Regions from separate parts of the Homo sapiens genome. Here region 2 is linked to region 1. Evidence: promoter capture Hi-C in 16 types of primary human blood cells and fetal thymus (Javierre and others, 2016). All regions are on one chromosome and are shown on one strand. The core of a region is centred on a gene start or on the middle of the fragment in contact, and the rest is flanking DNA. Distances in the headings are between cores, read along the strand shown. Region 1 holds the start of LINC02521 (long intergenic non-protein coding RNA 2521). Region 2 overlaps LOC102723944 (a long non-coding RNA gene).

The links. Contacts are between HindIII fragments. The CHiCAGO score rates a contact against its expected background, and 5 or more counts as called.
Region 2: a fragment that was not itself captured here is called in contact with the fragment with the promoter of LINC02521 in region 1 in 5 of 17 cell types (activated CD4 T cells, total CD4 T cells, naive CD4 T cells and 2 more); the score reaches 9.1 in activated CD4 T cells.

What each region holds. Positions count from the first base shown.
Region 1 is chr6:2,633,159-2,635,899 of GRCh38, reverse strand. LINC02521 (long intergenic non-protein coding RNA 2521) reads right to left here and starts at 1,400. Exons shown (of 3, transcript NR_149119.1): 1 at 1,145-1,400. LINC01600 (long intergenic non-protein coding RNA 1600) reads left to right here and starts at 1,297. Exons shown (of 3, transcript NR_131168.1): 1 at 1,297-1,335; 2 at 2,108-2,295. The HindIII fragment of the contact is 1,903 bases long and covers 670-2,572 here.
Region 2 is chr6:1,530,013-1,532,753 of GRCh38, reverse strand. The region is part of intron 2 of LOC102723944 (a long non-coding RNA gene); the gene reads left to right. Among named protein-coding and RNA genes, the nearest start is that of FOXCUT, 74 kb to the left of the region's middle. The HindIII fragment of the contact is 2,893 bases long and covers 1-2,741 here.

The sequences.
Region 1 (2,741 bases), core at 151-2,650:
TTCATGCTTCCTTGAAGTTCTATCAACTTATTTTGGGGGCAGATTTGACCTGTCAGAGCACTTCCTCCGTGGGAGCTCCATATCTAAATATGTGCATATATAGTTTTCTACTTTACTGACGGTAGCTTTCATAAAGCCGCTTGAAGTACTTACTAAAAATCCATCTTAAGACTCTTTCTGCATTTTGGGAGGCCGAGGCGGGTGGATCACCTGAGGTCAGGAGTTTGAGACCAGCCTGGCCAACATGGTGAAACCCGGTCTCTACTAAAAAATACAAAAAATAGTCGGGCATGGTGGCGGGTGCCTGTAATCCCAGCTCCGTACTCCAGAGGCTGAGGCAGAAGAATCGCTTGAACCCAGGAAGCAGAGGTTGCAGTGAGCCAAGGTCGCGCCATTGCACTCCAGCCTGGGTAACAAGAGTGAAACTCTGTCTCAAAAAAAAAAAAAAAAATCTTCCCCACACATAATGTGGCAGGACAGGAAACACTAGGATTCCTCCAGTTTATGGGGAGATTGGGAGAGCTGAGGCTTCACAATGACACAGCCGGGTATGGAAAACACCAAAAGAAATATGCCTTTTTGGATGACAATACTCCACCCCAATTTCCAAGTATGCTACAACTTTTCCTCAGCCTCGATGGGAGGTATTTACAGTGAGTGGTAGAAGCTTTACTGCAATGCCCTGGTAGACACAGGCTCCACCAGGCTTGGCTTCTACACTCTCACTGGGTCTATGGATGAGCACAGAAGCCAGGTTTCTGGCTCACAGAGAACCTAAGTGCTGAGTTTATATATAAAGTGCACAGTGTGAATAATTAAATATGAAAACGTGTACACACCAAACAGGACATTTTTACTTAATGCCAAAGAAGCACAAACGACCCTTTCTTTTGGGAGTTTCACAAGCATTTCTGCTCAACAGTAATCCCCCAGTGACAGTGATAGTAGTGGTTTCAATATTTTGTTTATAAAAAGCAACATTATAAAATGCCCTGAAAGGTCTTGGCTTCTTTTGTGAGCTCTGAACTATTCAGAAATTCAGCTTGCTATCTGGGGACAACAAATAAATCCCTACTCTAAAAAAATGGGATTCGGGTTTTTCTCCTGTGCTGCTTCCTGGCCTTAACGCTTCCTGGGGACTTACCGTCATTTGCTCAGTTACGGTTTCTATGGGATGAGTGGGGAAGCCGCGTGGTGAGGAAGCCTGGCTCGCACCCGGCCTGCGCTCTCTCGGGCCTGGCCGCATCGGCCACCAGGGGGCAGTGTTGTCATTCGCTGGCGACGCCGCCCCGCCCCGAGCGGATGCCACCCCGTTTCCAGCCTCCGGTGCTCACCGTAAGCTCTGTTATTATTATCTTTTGATTTATAAAGCGCCGTTCCTCAGCAGATTCCCCGCCCCCCAGCTGCTTCCGAGAAAGCTCGCAGAAGCGTTCGTGCGCAGGCGCGGAAGCCCCGCACAGCACGCGGTGGGCCCGGTTCGGGGGGGCGCACGGCCTGGGGCGTCGGGAAGAGGCTGCGGGCAGCGGGGCCTGCGGGCGCGGCGTGGCGGGGCGGGAAAACGGCTCTGTCCCGTGGGGCGCAGGCAGGAACGTGTTCCCATAAAAGACACAGGGAAGACCAACCCTGGGCGTTAGCCATCCAAACCTTCCCTCCCGTGCGAAACCCGCTGCCCTGCGGCCAGGACTGTGAGGGAAGCGATGGGAGGAACCCGGGAGCCCGCGAAGGCCGGGCCCCAGAGTCCGGGCGCCCCTGAGCGGGGCGGAGGGGACAAATAGAACCTTTTTAAGGACAGCTGAAAGAGATTATAAGCGCGGTGTGCTGGGACTTTGGAAAGGGCGCGAGTCATTAGTGGGGGCGAATCAGAGGGGAGTATGTTGACGGGATAATAACAAAAATAAAGAGGCTTGATAAGAAAGACACGGCTTTTGGAGTCAAAGGGAAAATCCGGGACAATGAGGGTTGGCAGGTTCCTGGGACACAAACCAGGAAAAACAGGGCCACACCGGAGCGGCCTGCCTGGCTCCAGCACAGCCGGTGCAGAAGCTAATTTTGTTCCGAGTCCTCCTAGCTCAACAAACATGCCGCCATAGCACCTATTTTCTTTTAGGTAATGCTCACAACAACCTAGCAAAGTGGGGATCATCTTCACCACTGTACAGATGAAGAAATTGAAGGTCAGACATTCAAGGTTATGTGGCCACATGAGAGAAATACCAGAGCTGGGATGAAGACTCAACGGCTCTCAGACACCAGGTTGCTTCTTGAGAGAAGCCGGATGGATGTGCATGCAGGGAGGTGAGCCTCAAAGCAGGTCCAGCTTTCTCCCGTGAGTGTTCCAGTGGCTTAGGGTTAGGGTTAGGGTCCAGAGGAGGAGAGGCGTCCAGAGCTGGGGCCGTCTGCGTTTTGCCTTGCTGTCCCAGAGTGGCAGCGAGGAGTGGCCTGGCCTAGAGGGTCTTTGTCTTATCTTGTGACTTGCTGTTTCTCCTCTGTCTGCAGGAGCTGGGGGAGGTTGGAGAAGCCGCAGCCCAGAAGGGGAGGGAGGACACCATGTCAGAGCTTGCTGGAGCAAGCTTTGGAGGAAGGCCACAGGGGACATTGTCACCAAGGGCCACGGCAGCGTGCACCCTGGGTTAGAGAAAGGGGCAAATTATGGATATGAAAAATGCTTCCCTCAATGAAAAGGACCCTGCTGAGACAGGATGGCTGTGGGCCAAATACCCCTACAGTGCCTGATTCTTTTA
Region 2 (2,741 bases), core at 84-2,583, 1.1 Mb after region 1:
CTTAGGACTTAGCCAAGAACAAACAATAACAATAATAAACCAAAACCAAAACCAACCAACCAACCAACCAAACAAATAAACCAAAACCCCCCAGAACAACAAGAAACCCACATACCATGTTATTGTATAACACTTGATATCATTAACAGGTCGATTTTCTATAGGTTAAATATTTCAATATAATATTTTTGGATGTAGGGAGTTAATGCCAAGGCTCTTATGGGAAGATACATAAGCAAGCAGAGGCAGGAAAGTTCTAGAAAAAAGGAATAATAGGGGAAGGGGACTATCTGTGCCAGATATTAGTCACATATTAAGCTATAATAATAAACAATGAGTTTCTGATGTGGAGCGAAAGCTCAATGGAACAGTCTATAAAGTTCAAGAACATTCAAATACATATTAGAATTTAGTATACGTGCTAAAAGTATGACAAAAGTGCAAAAAGACTAAAAGAAAATAAATACAGTTCATCCTCGGTATCTGGGGAATTGGGTCCAGGACCCCCACAGATACCAAAATCTTCAGATGTTAAAGTCCCTGATATAAAATGGTATAGTGTGTACATATAACTGTATACTTTAAATCATCTCTGGGTTACTTATGATAGCTAATACAATGTAAATGCTATGTAAATAGTGGTTATACTGTATAGTTTTTTTATTTGTATTTTTTTTATTGCTGCGTTGTTATTTTTAATTGTTTCTTTTCCAAATATTTTCCATCTGTAGTTGGTTGAATCTGCAGATGTGGACCCATAGTGGGATGACTGTATGTAAAAGAAAAAACCTTCCACATGGCGGAAAACAAACAAAACAGCAAAATACCCCAAATACCTGAGTCAAAGGGGAAAGAAATGCTTCAACTTGGACTGCACAGGGTTCTAATGCTCTTGATGTATAGAGTTCTTACAAATTAGTAAGGAAAGAACCCAGTAGAAACATGGGCAAAGAGGGTGAAGTGAGAGTTGAAAGACAAGCAGAATCAATGCCTCTAAAGCCTAGCAAAAGATGCTCAACCTCATAATATAAGAAATACAACTCAGCCAGGCGCGGTGGCTCACACCTGTAATCCCAGCACTTTGGGAGGCCCACGCAGGTGGATCATGAAGTTAGGAGATCGAGACCATCCTGGCTAACACAGTGAAACCCGGTCTGTACTAAAAACACAAAAAAATTAGACAGGTGTGGTGGCATGCACCCGTAGTCCCAGCTACTCGGGAGGGTGAGGCAGGAGAATCGCTTGAACACCAGGGAGGCAGAGGTTGCAGTGAGCGGAGATCGTGCCACTGCACCCCAGCCTGGGTGACAGAGTGAGACTCCATCTCAAAAAAAAGAAAAAAAAAAAAAAGAAATACAACTCAAAACTTCAATGAGATTTTTTTCATTTATCAGATTAACAAAGATTAAACAGGTGATAAAATATCATAGGCATAAGGAGAGACAGTCACATTCACACATGGTCAACTTAAGTGAGAACTGGCATCAATATCTGTGCAGGACAATTGGACAATTCCTACCCATAATAAAAATGCACATGCCCTTTGACCTAGCAATCCCACTTTAGGACTATATCTTGCAGATATAATTTCACAAGAATGTGCAACATTGCTCATAATAGGAGAAGTCTGAGAACAACTTAAATGCCCATCAGTGGGTGGCAGGTTAAACAGATTATGGTAAATCCACATGGGGATACTACACAGCCATGAAAAAGAACAAGACTGTTCTAAATGTACTGATATAGACAGGACTCCAAGACATGGTGCTAAGTGAAAAGATAGTAATATTGTAATAATATTGGTAATAAGTGAAAAGTGAATAATAAGTAATAAGTGATAGTAATAAGTGAAAAGAAAGTAATATTGTGCTATCACATGCAAAAAAATAGAAGCGATGTACATGCCTATACTATATATGCATAAAATTTCTTTAAAAAGCTGTCTGGGGTTTGGTGAACACATAACAGTCTCTAACACAAATTGTATAAAGCTGAAGCAAGGCGCTGGTTACAGATAATGATCTGAATATTTCAAAGGGGGAGTTTTAAAAGAACCGAAACCAGATGAAACTGATTATCTCTCATAATACCCAGATAGAAAGACTGGCCCAGGATCTTCAAGGAAGTTTGTTGCAATCAGGGCCCAGTAATTTCATTATCAGAGTGTCGCTGATTGCTGATCCCAGGAGGCCACCTGGGATGGCGTGATTACCCTGCAGGGGCTGATGAGGTTCCACCAAGAATGCAGCAGGTGCCCAGGCTTCCTGCTCTGGGGACTAATGCTTAATTGGTAGCTGGTTGGTTCAGGAGGTGGCGGGTTGGTTCCCAAGAAGCTGATGTCAAGGGTTTTATTCGTATGGGCTCTGCGTGGGTTCACATGGGCCCTTGGTCACATGGGATTCTGGGCAGGGGAGCTGTTTGGGGTGGATGGTTAGAACAGATCTTGGTGCTGTTACCTTCTCTGTGCCTCGATTTCCATCCCAGCTCTGCAGTCATCCACTTACTCAAGGAGGGTCAGTATTAGGTCTGTCTCCCTGCTCATTCTGCCTGCATGCAGTAAGCCAATCACTGTGACAATGGGCTTTGCAAAGAAGAAAGGGTTGATCCATGAGGCTACGAAGCAAGGAGGCAGGAGAACAGGTCTCAAATCTGCCTCCCCAAAAGTCAGGTTAGAGATATATATGGCATAAGGAAGCAAGGTGATCTGAGGTGTGGGGAAAGGTGACTGAGGGTGAAGAAAA